7 separate regions of the Homo sapiens genome follow, and regions 1, 2, 3, 4, 5 and 7 are each linked to region 6. The links are contacts of gene promoters, found by promoter capture Hi-C in blood cells and fetal thymus (Javierre and others, 2016). All regions are on one chromosome and are shown on one strand. Each heading gives the region's core, a stretch centred on a gene start or on the middle of the fragment in contact. The rest is flanking DNA. Distances are from core to core; before and after follow the strand shown. Region 1 has its middle 130 kb from the start of LINC03002. Region 2 overlaps LOC101928277 (a long non-coding RNA gene). Region 3 has its middle 69 kb from the start of LINC03002. Region 4 overlaps LOC101928277 (a long non-coding RNA gene). Region 5 has its middle 100 kb from the start of LINC03002. Region 6 holds the start of SGK1 (serum/glucocorticoid regulated kinase 1). Region 7 has its middle 85 kb from the start of LINC03002.

The links. Contacts are between HindIII fragments. The CHiCAGO score rates a contact against its expected background, and 5 or more counts as called.
Region 1: a fragment that was not itself captured here is called in contact with the fragment with the promoter of SGK1 in region 6 in 1 of 17 cell types (monocytes); the score reaches 8.4 in monocytes.
Region 2: a fragment that was not itself captured here is called in contact with the fragment with the promoter of SGK1 in region 6 in 1 of 17 cell types (monocytes); the score reaches 5.1 in monocytes.
Region 3: a fragment that was not itself captured here is called in contact with the fragment with the promoter of SGK1 in region 6 in 9 of 17 cell types (activated CD4 T cells, neutrophils, monocytes and 6 more); the score reaches 7.9 in activated CD4 T cells.
Region 4: a contact is called between a fragment that was not itself captured here and the fragment with the promoter of SGK1 in region 6, in 1 of 17 cell types (monocytes). The highest score is 7.8, in monocytes.
Region 5: a contact is called between a fragment that was not itself captured here and the fragment with the promoter of SGK1 in region 6, in 13 of 17 cell types (neutrophils, activated CD4 T cells, naive CD4 T cells and 10 more). The highest score is 18.1, in neutrophils.
Region 7: a contact is called between a fragment that was not itself captured here and the fragment with the promoter of SGK1 in region 6, in 5 of 17 cell types (neutrophils, monocytes, total CD4 T cells and 2 more). The highest score is 8.6, in neutrophils.

Annotation. Positions count from the first base shown.
Region 1 is chr6:134,667,800-134,670,499 of GRCh38, reverse strand. No RefSeq gene overlaps it. Among named protein-coding and RNA genes, the nearest start is that of LINC03002, 130 kb to the right of the region's middle. The HindIII fragment of the contact is 358 bases long and covers 1,110-1,467 here.
Region 2 is chr6:134,688,368-134,691,067 of GRCh38, reverse strand. The region is part of intron 4 of LOC101928277 (a long non-coding RNA gene); the gene reads left to right. Among named protein-coding and RNA genes, the nearest start is that of LINC03002, 150 kb to the right of the region's middle. The HindIII fragment of the contact is 1,932 bases long and covers 384-2,315 here.
Region 3 is chr6:134,607,407-134,610,106 of GRCh38, reverse strand. No RefSeq gene overlaps it. Among named protein-coding and RNA genes, the nearest start is that of LINC03002, 69 kb to the right of the region's middle. The HindIII fragment of the contact is 1,971 bases long and covers 465-2,435 here.
Region 4 is chr6:134,770,194-134,772,893 of GRCh38, reverse strand. All of the region lies in intron 3 of LOC101928277 (a long non-coding RNA gene), which reads left to right. Among named protein-coding and RNA genes, the nearest start is that of ALDH8A1, 180 kb to the left of the region's middle. The HindIII fragment of the contact is 1,508 bases long and covers 521-2,028 here.
Region 5 is chr6:134,641,108-134,643,807 of GRCh38, reverse strand. No RefSeq gene overlaps it. Among named protein-coding and RNA genes, the nearest start is that of LINC03002, 100 kb to the right of the region's middle. The HindIII fragment of the contact is 751 bases long and covers 915-1,665 here.
Region 6 is chr6:134,316,807-134,319,506 of GRCh38, reverse strand. SGK1 (serum/glucocorticoid regulated kinase 1) reads left to right here and starts at 1,395. Exons shown (of 14, transcript NM_001143676.3): 1 at 1,395-2,115. The coding sequence starts at 2,047. RefSeq lists an enhancer at 1,568-1,847. The HindIII fragment of the contact is 10,717 bases long and covers 1-2,700 here.
Region 7 is chr6:134,623,830-134,626,529 of GRCh38, reverse strand. No RefSeq gene overlaps it. Among named protein-coding and RNA genes, the nearest start is that of LINC03002, 85 kb to the right of the region's middle. The HindIII fragment of the contact is 7,681 bases long and covers 1-2,700 here.

The sequences.
Region 1 (2,700 bases), core at 39-2,538, 350 kb before region 6:
AGTACCACAAATGCCATGGCTTAAAAAACAGAAATGTATCGTCTCATGGTTCTGGAGGCTAGAAGTCCAAGCAAGGTGTCGGCAGGGTTGGTTCCTTCTGAGGGCTGTGAGGGAGTGTCTGTTCTATGACTCTCTCTTAACTTCTGGTGATTTGCTGACAATCTCTGTTTTTTCTTGTCTTGTAGATGCATCTCCCCATTCTCTACTTCCATGTTCACGTGACATTCTCCTTGTGCACATGTCTGTCTCTGCCTGAATTTCCCCTTTTTTTAAGGTCAACAGTCATAGTAGATTAAAGCCCACCCTACTGACTTCATCTTGACTGGTCTATCTGCAAAGACTCTATTCTCAGATAAGGTCATGTTCATAGGTATATGACCTAAGAATTTCTAGGGGGTTAGGATTTCAACAGTTTGGAGGGACGCAATTCAACCGCTGACAGGACCTATGCAACAATCACTGCAGAAAACACAACAAAACTGAGAAATAGCAGAGGTGGCAGAATGGTCTTGACATTGTGATTTTCACCTCTGCCTTCTAAATCTTGTGTGGTTAGATCTGCTTGGTGGAAGGAAGTAGTGCTATAAGAAATCTGATAAATGGCATAAGGGATTCAGCTTTTTGGCCTCTGAGATGCTATAAAATCTGCCACAAGGGGTTGGGAGTGGAGATGGATAGGCTAAAATGGAGTTGGATGAGCCAACCTGTATTATCTTCCACTTAGGAAAGTAGAGAGCTGTAAGAGATGTTGTGAAGGTTAATGAGTCAATGAGTGATAGAGTTAAACAAACAACAGCATGTTGGTAGTGAATTACTGCTCTCTGTCTCAGGATGCAATTAATTAAATCTCCTTTTCAATTGCTGCAAAAAATTTACTCATGGACTAGGAATTGTAAGTACCTAAAAGGCAAGTGATTTAGTCTCTTCTTACCAGCAAGATTATGTTAGGCCCAATATCTTTGAAACCTGTCAGAGCCTAGGAAGAATGTGGTATATACATACAAAGAGAAGACAAAGAAAATAAAGGAAAATCCTGACATGCCCCAGGCTGATTAATAGTGTGTACCACCTAGTCTCCTAAGTTAAACTCTTAAAAACATCTTCAAGCTTCTCTTTCTGTCTCTTCCTAGCCTAATATTTTCATTGCCACAACCTAGAAATTTTGCCTTAAAATAAACCTCGAATTTGACCACCCCACTTTATTCCTGTGGCTATTTTCTGAATGTAGTTCCTCACTGCTTCGAGATAGACATTTGTAATAACCTGGTATTCCCATCTCTAGATTATTTCCCATCTTAGGCCTTCTTTCACCCTACAGCCAGAGTTATTCTTCCTAAAACCCGAATTTGGCTATGTCCAACCCACGTTCCAAGTCACTGCTGTCCTCATTATTGTTACTAATGATCATTGTAGAAGTAAATATTCGTTCTTTTGATTTTGTAATTTTCTGGAACTTTCCCCTAAGCTTCTGCTACCTTTTAACTATTTGCTGGATAGCTCTGCTTAGAAATCCTATGAGTATCTCAAGCCCTGAAGTGACATGTACAAAACTGAATTCTTATTTACTGATTTCCTTTCTGGCCCCACAAACCAAACCAGAAAAAACAAAAACAAACTTCTTTGTCCTCTCATCCTGTAACCTCTTTGTCATCCACCATTTACTACCGTAATGAGGCACATTATCTTTTATTTTACAATGAAACTTCACAGTTTTCAAATCCAGAGTCTAAGTTATTAGCAACCAAATCAATTTGGTTCTTTCCCTGAAGCCAGAAAAATTAGGTCTCAAAATACTAACTGGAGGTGAAATATTCTCATTCCCAAGCTGGGCTTATTAAGCCAGTAAAATAAGTGAAAACCAAATTAATGAAAATGCAAACAAAGAATGTCTCTATTAAATCAGGCTATATAGGGATGAGTGGTTCCAATCCTGTTATTTCTGTGCTCTACAAACTTCAGTGGTTTCTAGTTGCCTATCAAAGTAAATCACCAGGAGGAAATTACAGTTTGAAACTTTAATACCCCAATCGCATAGCCTTAAAATATAAGCAAAAATTCATGGAACTAAAATAAGAAATAGACAAATTCATCATCACAGGGGAAGACTTTTATACTCTTAACTACTGATTTATTTAATGAATCTGTAAATATATACAATGTTTGAATAACAAAAATGAGCATTTATATAACACTGTACTCAATAACCAGAGAATGGAAATTTATTTCAGGCACACATGAAACATTTATGAAAATTTATGATGTTCTAACACTTAAAGCAAGTCTCAATAAATTTTTTAAAGAGGGTCTTCTATAGACCATGCAATTAAATTGAGGGAAAGAGAGAAACTAGATTTCTTAAGGTAAGAAAAACCAAGGACACACTGGCTGAGATGGCAAGGAGGTGGACCACACACCTGGACCCAAAGAGGAAATTTCCTCACTCTTACAGAGACCACAGGCATACTTAAATCTGAAAGTTGGACCAACCAGGTAATCCATACCTGTAAAAGAAGGCTGTGGACAAAAGGGCAGTGAAAAAATGATCCACTTGGAAGAAACTGCTTAGACTTTAAAAACATAATGATAGGCCAGGCATGGTGGCTCATGCCTGTAATCCAAGCACTTGGGAGGCCAAGGCGGGAGGATCACTTGAGCCTAGGAGTTTGAGACCAGCCTGGGCATAGTGAGACCCCATTTCTA
Region 2 (2,700 bases), core at 100-2,599, 370 kb before region 6:
TGGTGCAATCTTGGCTCACTGCAACCTCTGCCTCCCGGGTTCAAGTGATTCTTGTGCCTCAGCCTCCCACGTAGCTGAGATTACAAGCATGCGCCAACACACCCAGCTGATTTTTGTATTTTTAGTAGAGACAGGGTTTCACCATGTTGTCCAGGCTGATCTTGAACTCCTAACCTCAGGTGATCCGCCCACCTTGGCCTCCCAAAGTTCTGGGATTACAGGCGTGAGCCACCACGCCCAGCCAAGAGGGTCTGATTAATTGGTCTGGGGTGGAGCCTGGACATCTGCACAGATTTTGTAAAAGTGATCCAGCTGATTCTAATAGAGGTAAGAATTCCAATGGCTGAGAAGCCCATGCCAAAGTATTAAGAAGAGCACAAGCTTAACAGCAGACAACTGAACAGGGCTGCGGAGGCAGCAGAGTTGAGGACACCTGCAGCAACCACCACTGTAACCACAGTAGCAGCAGCCACAATGACAGAGGGGTCAACCTGGGATAAGAGAATGCCTGGAGAGGAAGACATCTTGCTCATATGCTCAGCTTTTCCCAGCACTGGCCAGATACACAATCATTCTTTAGTCGGTCAGCACTCATTCGTTCACTGAGTGCCATGTTCCTAGTACAGGGACGGGGCAGACAGAGGTAGACAAGACCCAGTCTCTGTATTTGAAGAGGGGAGACTAACATTACAGGTGCACAATAGAAGTGTGCACAGAACACAAAAGAGACACAAATGAGGGAGTGCACATTCCATCCGGGAAGGCTGTGGGACAGGAAAGACAAAATATTACCATTTAGTCCACCAGGTGGCTGGGGGATGGAGACAGGTGGAGAGGTGTTAAGGGGATGGTGATGGTGGCCATGGGAGTGGCCATTGATTGAATCAGAGATGCAGGATGGGGTTGGTTGGGATTAAACATTTCCTGGAAGAATCCACTCAGGGTATGCAGTATGGTAGAACAATTTCACTATGTACCCATTAAGTATATATGGGTGGCAGTCGAGTGGGTGGGAAGGAAGGGACTGTGGAGGCAGCAACAAGAAAGGCTTTGCAAGGAACCCATTCTTAGCTATCTTCCTCCCACTTGCAGCATCTCTCAGGGATCTGTGGTTCCTGGGTTCCTGGTCTTCTTAATCCTCAGTCGCCACAGGACTGTGTGCTGGCAGGCAGAGGGCTGGAGCCTGGCAGAGGTACCTCCGGCCCCAGGGCAGTGCATGCAGCCAGCTCTGACCTGGCTCCTGCTATCGGGATCTGTCATTAGTAAAACCCCAGCTCCTTTGCCAAGTGCCAGCGCTCCCCACCACCCTGCCATGGCTAGGCATTCTTAGTACAGTGTAACAGTATCCACACTTTTAAGAACATCCTGGGCATTTGAAACCTTGTCAAGTGTAAAGAAAACTATGGCTTGAATCTCTGAGCCTTGTTTCCTCTCCAGGGGAAGTAATAGGCAAGGTTGTATCCTTTGGATATCATTTCAAAAAAATCTTTCAATTTCCCAGGAGAAGAGACTGCAAGAGAAAAAAAAAAACTCAGGAGAGTGTATAGAATACCTTTCATTTAGCAAGATAAAAGCTAGTCTGCTAAATTAAAAATAGCGCATTCTAAGAACTGGAAGGGACAATGCTGGGCTTGTTCAGTGGCTGTGAAAGGACACTTTATCTCAGTCATGCTTGTCTCGTGGGGCAACTGGCAATGATTGGGAATTAGCAAAGCCTGGGAAGCCTGAGACAGGCACCTCTTCCTGGGCAACTGATTCATCATATAGAGTGCAGTCTCCGCTTCTCTGCTTGTAAAACTTATAAGGTACTTGCTCGGGAATAAACTAATAAAATCATTTATAGCCTCACAGAATATAGAATTTGAAATGGCAAATATTTTTATCAGGTTGCTCCTGATACCTTAGCTTTTAGGAATTTATTGTCCCCTTTGAAAACCAGAAATAGGTGAAGAAAAGATGTGATTCTAATATTACTTGTCTTCACCAGCAACTTTCATTTCTCTCTGGGGAGATGGGCAGGTTTCATTGTGTTTTTGATGCCTGATTACCCTCTCTGAGGGGAACATTCAAATTCTTAGACGAAATTCATTAAATTGTTGGAAATTCCTAACGAACCCATCACTCAGTAACCTTAACTGGGTGGGTTCTTAATTTCCTGGTACCACCACACCCTGAATAGCATTCTAATGAGGAAATAGATGTAGCAATTCTTTCATTTGTATGACTTTTTAAAGCGTATGTTTTTATTTCCCTTGCAAAAGAAAGTATTTTAATACAATGGAAAGAATTTGTAACAACGTTAAGAGAGACAAGCTTCATACATAATATAGATCTCCATTGTTCCTGTAGAGGAGAGAGGGGTAGCTGAGTAGGGATGCTTTCCAATGATGACCTGGTTTGATTTACAATATGACAGAATCAATGGCAGTTCAAAAAGTGGTTTCCAGCACTTTGGATTCTGGTAATTTGGGGATTGTTGTATTTGCTATCTAAGGAAGGTAAAGTTGAAGAATATAATTTCTTCTAAACTAAGTGTACTCATGCTGAAAATGAGTTGGTATGTTACAATATTGTTTATAATAGGAAAGATTAGAAACAATTTAAATATTTGAAATAGTTAAATAGACAATGATATATTCAGTCAAATGTTATGCAGTATATAACAATCGAGTAAGGTGGAGGTATTGACTTAGAAAAATG
Region 3 (2,700 bases), core at 201-2,700, 290 kb before region 6:
CTCTCCAATCATACTCTTCCTCCTGCACATTCTATTTTAATTTTGGCATCTAGCCAGCAAAGCTAGAAAGCTGAGAATAATTACATGCTCCCAGAACACCCACATCCACTCAGTTTTGTGTGTATTTATATCCCTGAATATTTGTTAGATTTTACTCTTCTCTGCATCTGAACCCCACAGCTCTAATTCAAGCTCTTGTCAGCACTTGCCTGCACTATTTTATGACCTCTTTACAAATCTGCATGCCTCTGGTCTTGTTCTCTTAAACTCATCTGTGTTGGTTATGAATGTCTGCATTATAAATTATTTTAAGACTGTGTAACTTAAAGCAACATGAATAAACACTATCTTGTAGTTTCTGTGGGTCAGGAATTCAGGAGAAGCTTAAGCTCTGTGGTTCCGTGTTGGGGTCTCTGATGAAGTCATAGTCAAGATTCTAGCTGGAGTCGCACTTGTCTGAAGCTTTGATTGGAACTGGAGGATCCACTTCCCAGGTGACTCTCAAATGGCTCACATACTGGTTGGGATTGTTAGTTGAAGGCCCCAGTTCCTCCTTGGTAACCCTCTCTACAGAATTGTTTGAATGCCCTCATGGCCTGGCAGCCTAGCTTCCACAAGAACAAACAGTCCAAGATGCCAAGGCAGAAGCTGAAATTCCTTTTATAACCTAGCCCCAAAAGTTACCTTTGTCACGTCTACTGTACTCTATTGGTTATGCATGTTCTGTTGGAGGAAGGAGACTATGGAACGGCATGAATATCAAAAGGCCATGATCACTGGAGCCATCTTGGAGGCTGGCTATCACAACACTCACCTCACTGCTATCAGAGTGATCCCTTAAACATGAACCTGTCTAATTAAAGTGGAAATGGTGAAGATACACTGTGGATAGAGGAATTGAGAAGAATGGTGGTGAAGGCCTGAAAGAGAATGGAAGATAAAGCAGCAATTTACTATGGGCATCAAACAGATACGTCGAATGACATTGAGGGTTTCACTGAAGACCAGTGGTAAGCATTCTAGCTGTAGAATAATAAAGCAGAGATTTTGAGTGTGGTGCAGTGTTGGGACTTTGACAGAACATACAGTATAAGAATAGGAGTGCGTGGTTGTTGGTGATGAATTCAAGTCATCAACCATGGGGTCCAGACTAGGTCGTAAAGGAAGTGACTTTAGGAAGACACTGATTGTTAGGAGAAAATGGAGTCATCAGGGGACTTGAAATAGACATATAACACCAAAAATAGATTTAAAGGCACTAGTGAATGTGAAAAACTTCAAAATATATGAGGTAAGTTCAGAGAGTAGGCATTAGAGCTCAAGGTGTCACATGTGGGAGGATTCTGGATTATAACCCAGTCTAGGATGTGGCAGTAGGTATAAAAGGCTGGAGTTTAGAGAAAGTAAAGGCCACTAGAACTCATAAATTCAAGAACCTGGGAATCTAGAGTGTTGGAAATGTCATCCACATGGACACTAATGGTCACTGGTGTTATCATTATGATAGCAGGACATGGGATAGAGAAGTGCGCTATGAGCAGGTACCAAGATTTATGATGGATGTCAAACAGCTGGTAGAGGACAGCAATCAGGAGGGAAGGAGGCAGAATAGTCAGATGCCATGAGGGTCTTCATGCAAGGATAGAGAAACAAGGATTTGGAAGAAAACCTGAGGATCTGTGAAGATACTGACGCCACCACAGTCTCATAGTTGGCTGATGGCACTGTCATTTGAACGGGTTTGCTGATGTGGAGGAAGGTTTAGCGTCCTTCACTTCAGAAGGTTTTCTGGGGAGGTGGTGACTGTGAAGAAATCTAGTTTTACTGAAGATAAGATGGTAAAGTTGTTGATATGGTTTGGCTCTGTGTCCCCAGTCAAATCTCATGTTGAATTGTAATCCCCAATGTTGGAGGTGGGGCCTGGTGGGATGTGATTGGCTCATGGCAGCAGATTTTCCCCTTGCTGATCCTGTGATGGTGAGTGAGTTCTCACGAGATCTGGTTGTTTAAAAGTGTGTAGCACCTCCCCGCTTACTTTCTTCCTCCTGCTCCAGCCATGTAGGTAGGACATGCCTGCTTCCCCTTTGCCTTCCAACATGGTTGTAAGTTTCCTGAGGCTTCCCCAGCCATGTTTCCTGTACAGCCCGTGGAACTGTGAGCCAATTAAACCTCTTTTCTTTATAAGTTACCCAGTCTTAGGTAGTTCTTTGTAGCAAGAACAAATAAATACAATTGTCTTTCTGTGAAGGTGTGTTTAGGGGTGTATGTGTGTACATGTGTGTGTGTCTGTAAGAAAGTTTAATTACCATGAAATAGGAATTTCAGAAAGTATAGTTGAAAAAAGTTGAAGAAAGGAAAAGAGTGGAAGGTTAGATTGGTGAAAAGGACACATGGAGATATCTGAGGATGACAGTAGGGAAAACAGATGAGAAGCTTACATTTCAGACAATGACCTGTGGGGGCAGAGGAGATGTAAGGTCAAAATAAGTGTCCTTGTGGTTTCAAATAAAATTCTGGCATAAGGTTTTGGCAGAGATACAGCAGACTGAGAATAGGAATTTAGGACAACAGCATTTGAATAGAGTCTCCCTGATTGGAAGAGTGTGAACAGTCCAGCTGAGTCTTAGGGTCGTCAGCTTCAGGTCCCCACAAGAGGAGAAACTATTCCCATCTAGAAAGATACTGGAAGATCAAGGAACT
Region 4 (2,700 bases), core at 25-2,524, 450 kb before region 6:
GAAGCTTTTACTCATGGCAGAAAGTGAAGTAAGAGCAGTATTTCACATAGCAAAAGCAGAAGCAAGATGGGGGATAGGTGCCACATGTTTAAATGACCAGATCTTGTGAAAACTCGCTCACAACAGTGAGACAGCACCAAGCCCCAAGGGATCTGTCCACATAACCCAAACATCTCCTACCAGGACCACCTCCAACACTGGGGGCTCCCCTCTACATTTGGAGGGGACATCCAAACCATATCACCTCCCACTTGATTTCTGAATGTATTTCTGCCGAGGGGCTCACCCACTGCAGCCCAACTGCCAGGCCCAGGGCCTGTGAGTAGTGGTGCTGGCATATCCTGCATGAGTGGCCAAACTTTCAGGGACACGTCCATGCGTACTTCCTTACAATGGAGCTAATATGGCAGCTTTGTTTATCCCTTAGCTCTTGACCCACCAGGTTCTAGTTCTCTTTCCTTTCCTTAAGCCGCCTTGTTGAGGGCTTCTTGTTTCTGGTTTACACGAAGACAGAAAAGCTTAAGTTGTGTGTAAGGGAAGAGACCATTGGCCAGTTTTGGTTGAATGTAGAGGGAATGAAGTAAATTGTGGAGATAACTCTGGAATGATCTGTTAGGACTGTTTAGCAGGAAAGGAGAATGATACAATTGGAGCTATAATTTAGCACTGATTGATACATAATGGGTAGTGCAGTCAATGTTACACATTATACTAATGTGTAAAAAAAAGAGCAAACATTCTTTATTTTCTGGAACTGATTGAATTTTGCTCTCAAATCTTTCTCTTAATGGTAGAAAGGGAAGAGGACACTTAAACTTGCCAATTAAAGGCTTTTTCAGATGATCATATTCTATTTTAGAAAAATATTCAGCTAAATTCATACTTTAAACTTCCTCTCTGGGCTGTTCATCCTTTTCTCCAAAATAGTGTCTGGATATAGGAACTCTTTTTTCTTCATGGCCATGACGTATGGTAGTTTCACCTGTTAGTCCTTATGCTGACCTCTAGGTCTTCACTGGGCTTATTTGAGATGTCTCTTGCTGGCTGACCTGTTGAAATCTGCAACTGGTTAAACTATTGGTCTATTCTCTTGAAATGTTTAAAGCCTTATGATTCTCTTCTTAAAATTTCTCTCACCCTGTAATTCCGCTGACTTGCCCCATACTGAGTTTCTCTTGCATTATAGTTTCTTAGAGCCTTAGCCACACTTCTGTTACCCTGCCTCTGGTTTGGATAGAATACATATCTATAGTGACTGGCAGAATGCTAACATTGGGTCTGATCCAGTGGATTATGGTCTATTATGAAAGGGAGAGTCAAGAGGATACCATGGATCTCTCCACCCAATGCAACTTGCAAATTGGAAGCAATAATATGGCCCTCAAGGAACTGCAGATACTATGCCAAGCAAATACAAAATACTGGGATGTTGTTTCCTATTACTTTCCCTTTTAATTTCCCAATTCAGAACTTGCAGAATATGAATGGATCTTGGAGAATAACAATGGATGTTCATAAATATAGTAATGTGGTGACCCTAAATACTACTGCTCTTCCAGAATTGGTCTTCTACAGAAAAACAATGCTCTAAAACATATCTGTTATGCAGTTATTGATACAGTTATTTTTTTTTCTTTATTCTAACCAATAGGACTCATTTGCTTCATCTGACCTGGTGAGAAAGATCCCTTTACTATCCTGTCTCTAGGATACATTAGTTTGCAGATTCTGTGCCACATTTTAGTTTTTGGGGATGTTGCTGGTCTCATAGTACCATGCTGCTGTGCTGTATTGATGACTTCTTCATGATAGGACTGAAAAGCAGGACGTGGCTGGTACTCTATATATCTTGGTAAAGGATATATATGACAGGGTAGGAGGTAAACTCTAGAAAACATACCAGAACCTAATGCCTCTAGCATCCCTGTTATCTAGGAGATATCCTGGGATTTGCCTTCCAAAATGAATAAAACGGAATATAAGTTGCCACCTCAGTTAGTTCTCTGTCACTAAAAGTGAGGAAAAGCTTGGTGGTGTGGGTGTGTGCTTCTTTGACACAGCCAGGTATTCTGCATGTCCAAACTTGGTGGTGACAGCAGTAGCAAACAACCCTGAGTGTCCCTCTGTTCCTGCCAATTTGATGCTACACCCTGGAAAGACTAGCTAGCCTCTTGGTGAAAAGTTCCCTGATGGAAAGCCAACCATGGTGAGCCATTCCATCATGGAGGGGCTGTCAATTTTTCTTTTCTTTTTTTTTTTTTTTTTTTTTTTGAGGCGGAGTCTTGCTCTGTCACCCAGGCTGGAGTACAATGGCATGATCTCAGCTCACTGCATCCTCCATCTCCTGGGTTCTAGTGATTCTCCTGTCTCAGCCTCCCGAGTAGCTGGGATTACAGGTGCCCGCCGCCATGCCTGGCTAATTTTTGTAATTTTTAGTAGAGACAGGGTTTCGCCATGTTGGTCAGGCTGGTCTTGAACTCCTGACCTCAGGTGATCCACCCACCTCGGCCTCCCAAAGTGCTGGGATTACGGGCGTGAGCCACTGCACCTGGCCGGGGCTGTCAGTTTATCCTTACTATAGTAGGTAATGATTCTGGATTTGTATTTGTCTTTTTGGTTTCTGCCGTAGATCTACAAAATGCTCCCTATATATTCTTGGAGTCTCACAAAATATTGCTTTGGTCCAGGAACTCACTGTAT
Region 5 (2,700 bases), core at 41-2,540, 320 kb before region 6:
GACGGGGTTTTGCCATGTTGGCCAGGCTGGTCTTGAACTCCTGGCCTCAAGTGATGCTCCTGCCTCAACCTCCCAAAGTGCTGGCATTACAGGTGCAAGCCACTGTGACCAGCCTTGTATTAAACTTTTTACTCTCATTTACAAAGCCCTGCATGAGCAAGCCTTGGTCTCGGGGGTTTACCTTATTTTTGACCTCCTTGTCTCCTGGCCTTCTCTCCAGGCATACTGGCTTTCTTTCTTTTCCAACTCACCAAGCTGGTTCCCACCTCAGGTTCTTCGCAATTGCTGTTCTCCTTGCCTGCACTACTCTGCCCTGAGACCTTTGCATGCCCAGTTCCTCCTAAGTGTATTATCATCTTCTTAAGAGGCTGGGTGGCCCACCCTGACGACACTATCCATCCATAGTGCTGCTCAGTACAAAAAGGTAAAGAACAAGTGTGAGTGCAATTTTAGATGCTCAAGTAGCCACAGTGAAAGCACATAAAAAGAGGTTAAATCCTTCTTCATGATATTTTTATTTAATCCAGTATATCTAAGATATTTTCAACGATTAGTATAAAAATGTTAATGAGATAATTTTCTATTCTTTTTCTCATACTAAGTTTTTGAAATTCAGTTCATCTCTTACAGCACATCTCAACATGGACTGGACACATTTCAAATACTCAGGAGGCACATATGGCTAGTGGCAACTGTATTGGACAGCACAGATCTAAAACAAACCCTCACCTCCAGCCACTCTCAATCACATCGCCCTGCTTTATCATGATTGTAACGCTTATTAGTGTTTGAAATTACCTGGCTTATTTACTTGAACATTATTCCGCCTTGTTCTCTATCTGTACCCTGCCCATGAAAAGTAAAGTCCAAAAGACCAAGGGCTTCATTTTATTCTTTGTTGTGTTTTCAAAGCTTAGTATATTGCGAGTTTTCAATAAATATTTATTGAAAGTTAAATGAATGAGAAACAAATGTAATGTTAAAAACAGTGGAATCTGTATGTGGCTTTTACTGTTTCAGTTTTCCCTCCCTTGTGCGATATTTCAGATAGATGATGAAATGATAATATCAACCCCACAAGTGTTACTCCCCTTCCTCTCCATTTCCATGTCCCAGTGTAACTATTGGGCATTGTCTGTGTCCTATATTTTTTCTGGTATGAATTGACTTATAAAGAGAAAGCATTTTCTGATCTACTTTAGACCTAGTCTCAAGTTAGCATTCAACTCACACTAAGCAGGGAAAAAAAACAAACATCTGGACTTTCTCTTCTTTCTTCCATTAACCATTACAAGATTTTTTCAGACAGTAGTCAAGCTGTAACTTGTATTTATTATCTTTTTAGCCAATGGGAGGAAAACCAGGATCTGTGATCAGTTGCAGGCCTTGGAAACTTCCAAGACACCCAGAGTCCTGGGAATTTCCCTCCATTGCCGCTCTGGAGCTGACCCAGGCTTGCCTGCTACTGCGGCTGTATGTCACAGTAGGCAAGGGTTCCAGATCTGTCTGTGCTTATTGCCTCCATCTGTAAAGAATAAACTACAATTATTGCTTATTCCAATATAAGGCTATAGAGAAAATAACAACAGAGTACTTTATGCCCAGTAATGAAAAGCATTGTTCGTGGCCCTACAAAGCAATGGGCATTGCCTTAGTAATTAAGCTTATGTTCCATGCACAGATACTACAATTAAAAACTTTCAGAGTCTTGGAGGGTGGATCCATACTATAGGCAAAGGATAAAAAATAAGTAGGATTTGAAAAGCATGCTTACTCTTTGTAAACTTAGAGAACTTTGAGAAAAGAGAAAAGTTTCTGCAAGCTAGTTTTGGCATTTAATTACATTAGCGTACAACTATTCCTTGGTGAGACAGAATGAAGAGAACCTTGACCCAATTCAGTCCCACCCCTTCCCTATCTTCTCCTCTCTTCTTCCCCTGGTTATCTTTGAAATTATACTCCAGGATAAGCCTGGCTTTGGTTTATCTGCAAACAAAAGGGCTGTCAAATTTAAGAATGTTATGTTTTCGCTTCAGAATTCATTCATTCATTTAAAAATTATGTTGTACACCTATGGGAAATGCAAATGTAAATAAGACCTTAGAGGGGCTTACATTTTAGCAGATTGTACATTCATTAAACAATTTAGTTATTCAATTACAATCGTAATGGGTGCCTTGAAGGAGAAGAATCAGGTGGTATGAGAAGATTTAAGGAAGTCCTGATTGAGACTTTCCTGTGAAGGTGGCCCTTCAGCTACATTCTGAAGGAGAGATACGATTTAGGAGATGAAGGGGGTGAGGAAGTTTTTAGGCAGAGAGAGAAGCACATGTCAGTGTGTTGAGTCAGGGAATAACCTGGCATAATCAAGAGACCCAGACATGGCCAGGGTGGACCAGCCAGCACCCCAGAGGGCTCCCAGATGAGAGGCTAATGAAGCAACAAGAGCCAGAGCCCAGAGCCTCTGCCATTCTCCCCAGTGGTGCTTCCTGTTACAGAATTGAGAGATCCTCTTCATTCATTTCCCTGACACTTGCATATTTAGGAGGTATCTGACATGTGACGCACTGAAAAGTTGTGGCTTTGCTCATGTGCTATAAGCAGTAGAGACACAATTCCTTCTGCTTCTGTCTGGAACATATCTCAGCTGACTCATCTGCTGCAGTAGCAGACAATGAGCACCAGGGGGCAGAAAGCATT
Region 6 (2,700 bases), core at 146-2,645:
TATGTAACCACCACCATCATCATGATAGAGAACACTTCCATCGTCTCAAAATAATTCCCTTTGAACTACCATAATTTTAAATGAACTCTTTAGAAGAACCACAAAAACTTATCAATGTTGTAGATTACATAACATATACTTGCATCTTGGACAACTTAACATATCTCTCCAAAATGAATAGTTGTTTTCCCTTGGTTATCATGCCATCATTTAGTTGTATTGCATTTTCTTTTTGGAAACCTCAAGGCATTTAGCAAACAGGATTTCATGTTTATTCCCAAAAACTCTGGCCCAACTGTAGAGATTTATAGTCCAATTCAATGAAACCCATGCATTTCTTTCCCAGTTTAACCTGATGTTTCTCTTCTTACCAGAGACTTCCATGTAAATACTTTAACAATGTTAGGTGTGTTATATATAATGAGGTCATAATCAGTTTCAAATTAGCATTGCGCCTTTCACTTATTTATCAATTATATTCCCTTGTGATGATTATGAAAAGGCTCCACATCCTGAGGACACTTGTCAGAGTTAGATTTATTAATGGAATGAAATAGCAAATAATGAATGACTAAATAAATGAATGAGTGAATGAATGAATGAGTGGCTGCCTCCATTTTATGGATGAGGCAGTGTCCGAAAGGCACAGTGAGGTCAGGTGATGGCAGAAAGCCACACACCGATGTTGGTGGCTTTCTGCCAGGTCAGATGCCAAGTTTATTTTCTTTGCTTTCTTGCTTTACTATCAACTAATCTTTAAAATCATTCCCATAAAATATCAACATTAAAGAATAAAAATGGAAAAATAAGCCACATACAATTAAATGGCTTTTTTAAAAGGAGCTCAGTGTGCAAAGGATAACATGAGTAAGGATTTTTTGGGAAATTTTTCACCTAATAGGAAGAATGCTTTACTCTTTTATTTATCAAACCTTCCTCATCATTAAATGGATTCAGTAGTACTTTTTGGTAATAACTCGTGTGTGTGTGTATGTGTGTAATAAAGTACTTTGTATATGTTCATTGTGTTCTTTTTTTAATAAGCTGTTTTAATGAAAAAGACACAATTACCGTCACCATTGCCCACTATATAATGACAAGTAGGGGAGGGGAGGCTAAAAGAGCTTCTACATAGTGAGAGATCTTCCATTGTTATACCTACGCTTGCACTTTATTTCATTTTCTTCCACGTTTGGACAGGTCGAGATTAAATGTGATTACATTTCCGTTGAGAGGCTTTTATTCAGCAACAGGATTCAAAAGAATGTCAATGAGCATAAAATAAAAACGGTGTGCAATTTATATGAAACTCTGATTTAAATGGTCCTAACCAAAAAAAAAAAAAAAGAAAGAAAGAAAAGAAGCTATTTAAAGTAACCCTCCCAAGGGGAGTCAACTGCTCTTCAGTGTGCCCTGAGCCGGCTGTGCCTTCTCTCCATCCGCTGCTCAGATATTCATGAACCGTTGCTTCTTCCAGCCTCGCCTTCTCGCTCCCTCTGCCTTTCTGGCGCTGTTCTCCCTCCCTCCCTCTGGCTTCTGCTCTTTCTTACTCCTTCTCTCAGCTGCTTAACTACAGCTCCCACTGGAACTTGCACAATCAAAAACAACTCTCCTCTCTCAAGCCGCCTCCAGGAGCGCATCACCTGGAGAAGAGCGACTCGCTCCCCGCGCCGGCCGCGGAAGAGCAGCCAGGTAGCTGGGGGCGGGGAGGCGTACCCTTCTCCCGCTCGGTAAGAGCCACAGCATCTCCCCGGAGATTGGCCGTATCCCACCGTCCGGCCCCCAGGGTCCTGCAGCGGTGATGCATATGTTTCGGAGCAATGATGGAAGGAGAAAAGCCGCTGTCGGTGGCAACTGAAAGTGGGGAGAGGTTGCTGCAGTAGCTGGTGCTGCAGAATGCGCGAGTGAAGAACTGAGCCCCGCTAGATTCTCCATCCCGCTCAGTCTTCATTAACTGTCTGCAGGAGGTAAACCGGGGAAACAGATATGCACTAACCAGGCGGGTGCCAACCTGGATCTATAACTGTGAATTCCCCACGGTGGAAAATGGTAAACAAAGACATGAATGGATTCCCAGTCAAGAAATGCTCAGCCTTCCAATTTTTTAAGAAGCGGGTAAGGACAGGTTTTGCTTATTTCTTTTGTTTTCTGTGCTTCTCTTAAATGCTTTTGAATGTTTGCCTGAAGTAAGCCTGAGGTTTTGTTGCTAAACCCTTAATGTAAGCCGTGCTTCTGATGGCAGTGGTAAAGCTGAGAACTATACCTGACTTGATTAGAATTTGTTGGAGGAGGGGCAGGGGGCTATGAAGAGTTGCATTGGGAGGAGGGGGTTGGGCTGAGATGCCTTAAACGGGTTTGAGCTGGGAATGGGGATTTTTCTCTCTCAAGCCACAACAAAGATTACAAGGCAGTCGCAAAGAGAACTGGCTTGAGTACAATTATGGCTAGTAATTTAGTCAGGGGCTAATTTAGCAGCTTCCTCTCATCTTTGAAGGGTTCAACTTTTCTACACCTTTCATCCACTCAGTCTCAAGTGATGCATTATCATCTTCGTTCGTCAGAAGCAGCAGCTTCTGGTTTCCCAAATCCATTCAGCCAATAATTTGCTGTGTCTCTATCTGTGGTATAAATAGCAAAGGAGTAGAATGACCTTTTACAGAAATGATGGAATCCAGCATTTAAAATTGTCTATTTTAAGTT
Region 7 (2,700 bases), core at 190-2,689, 310 kb before region 6:
AAAGCAAACTGCTTAGGATTTAGGCCTGAGGTTCTGTGAAACACCTAAAGACCCATGGGAATGGAGAGCCCTCCTGGGGCATTTCCTGCAGAGGGACAGACAGGAGAGAACATGAAAAAAAAAAAATAATCTCCGGGTGGAAAATTAATTCAGACTTCATGAAAGGTTCACATTGTTGGAAGTGATGACTCTTGCTTGCTGTTCTCTTTTGAGTCCATGCCTAGGATTTTAAGTGATTCTTGACTTTGGCTTCTGGCACACACACAGCAAAGCAGCAAATGCTCTTTACCCCCAGGATGGATCTTTCCCACACGTTGTGCTGCCATATGTGGGCACACCCACCTGAAGCTCTGGTGGTTTTCCCTGGAAAAACACAGAGGGTTTCAAACTTCTGTGGCCTTACTTGGCCCATCCCCTGGGTAGGGCTGTGAGCTTCTCAAGACAAAATAACTTCTATCTTTAGGAAGCTCATCTAAAAGAGGCAAAGCTGCTTTATTTATAGGCTGATCATTAGGGCCATAATTGGATCAGGACTGTCTGCCAGTCACCCTCAGATATTTGCAGCATGTTTTTCTCCAAGTGTGCCTCTTTTCATTATCCAGATCAGAGGCATAATAAGAGAAGGAAGTTAAGTTGTGGAGTTAAGTTTTTAATTTCCCTACAGTTTCTCGGTTTTCTGCACATTATACCTAGAGGTGACTTGCCATAGGTGTATTTTAGCACTGGGTAGGACACACAGTGTTTGCAAAAACAAAAAGAAAGAAAAGAACAGCATTTTGTGCTGGAAATAAGGTACAATCATTCTTTCCTATCTTGCTATTGCTTCTGAGTATATTCAGGTAAATTTAAGGAATCTCAGGATTATCTGTTGTGGTTGTTTTATTTCATTCTGTTTTAATTTGGGGTTTCTTCATTTCAGTTTGTGGTTATTTTTGTTTATTGTTTATTTCATATGTATGTTTTTACTTGGAGGAACCACTGTGGACCCGGATACTTTAGAATAAGTGGTGTGTGTTGGAAGAAAGTAAAACTGAGAAACGATGACCTAGGTTCTGTCCTAGCCCCAGCTGTCAAGCAGCATGATCTCGGGCGAGTCACGTAACTTTTCCATTTATAAAAGGTTTGGCGCCATATCAGCGATTCCCCTGCATGGCTGCCCATCACAATCACCTAAGGAGTGTTTTAGAATAGAGTGTCTGCCACAAAGGAGCATGGGGGAACATTTCCAGATGATGAAACTGTTCTGCATCTTGTTATAGTGGTGGTTACATGACTTGTACGTGATGTCAAAATCTGACAACTGTACACTAAAGAGAGTGAACTTTACTGTAGGCATATTATCTTAATTTTAAATTAAAAAAATTTAAATCTCTTGAATATTGATATAGTGAAAAAATTGCCCAGGCCACCCCAAACCAACTGCCTACTGAACGCTATCTGTCCTTTCGACCATCTCCATAGTTGTGAACGTAATAGAAACTGACTCAGACATTCTAAGTTGCCACGATCCTAGGTTCAGCTGCTGTTTGTCTGTTGTGGCCATGAAGTCAAGAGTAACCGAGGTGCAGGACAGCACTGTGGGCACCTGCGGTTAGAGCATGTCTGGACAGGCTACTTAAATCACAGGGAAATTGGAGGGGGAAATGTGGCTGAGCTCTGGGTTAAATACTCAAGTGAAGCATCCATTATGGTCAGTGAGCAGAAAGTGTAGGCACAGCCAAGTACTGATCACATATAAGAAACCAGTGTATAGAAAGAAGATGTTGTGGCTGGGTGTGGTGGTTCATGCCTGTAATGCCAGCACTTTGGGAGGCCCAGGCAGGCAGATCACGAGGTCAGGAGTTCGAGATCAGCCTGGCCAAGATGATGAAACCCTGTCTCTACTAAAAATACAAAAATTAACCGGGTATGGTGGCGTGTGCCTGTAGTTCCAGCTACTTAGGAGGCTGAGGCAGAAGAATCGCTTGAACCAGGGAGGTAGAGGTGGCAGTGAGCCGAGATCTTGCCACTGCACTCCAGCCTGGGTGACAGAGTGAAACTCGGTCAAAAAGAAGAAAGATAGCAAGGAAGAAAAAGAGAGAGAGAGAAAAAGAAAGAGAAAGAAAAGGAAGGAAAGAAAGGGAGGGAGGAAGGAAGGAAGGAAGGAAGAAAGAGAAAGAAGATGTTGTCTGTTAATAAAAGCTATTGATTTTGGTTTGGGGCATTAAAAAGAAAGAAACATTCTGTGGGGTGAGTTGGACACCAGTCACAAGACAGCAGGTGTCTGGCAGACACAGGCTCACTGATGTGAACTGTGTGGATTTTAAGAGAGAAGAGAACATGCTCTTAGGGCTGACAGGTATTTTGGGGCCCAGCATTAACCTCTGAGAGGATTTCCCCCTAACATTAAAAAAAAAGATATATGAGACCTTCCGAATCAAAAGTGTTTCCTGACGATATTCATGCTATACTGGACTCCTAATAGAAAATAAGGAGCTTTAAGAATAATAGCTTTAAGAAAAGCTAAACAATATTTAGCTTTGTTTTAAAGTTCATGGAAGAATGTAGTAGGTATGTTTTGGGGGTGTCACATTCAAAGCATGCTTCCTTAGGAGCATCCCTCACTAACAGACCCTTCTGATGAGAGCTTGGGTGACAATATTGCTCTAGCATAGCCACCATCCTCCCTGGCTACAGCTGATGGAACCATGGCAGGCACCA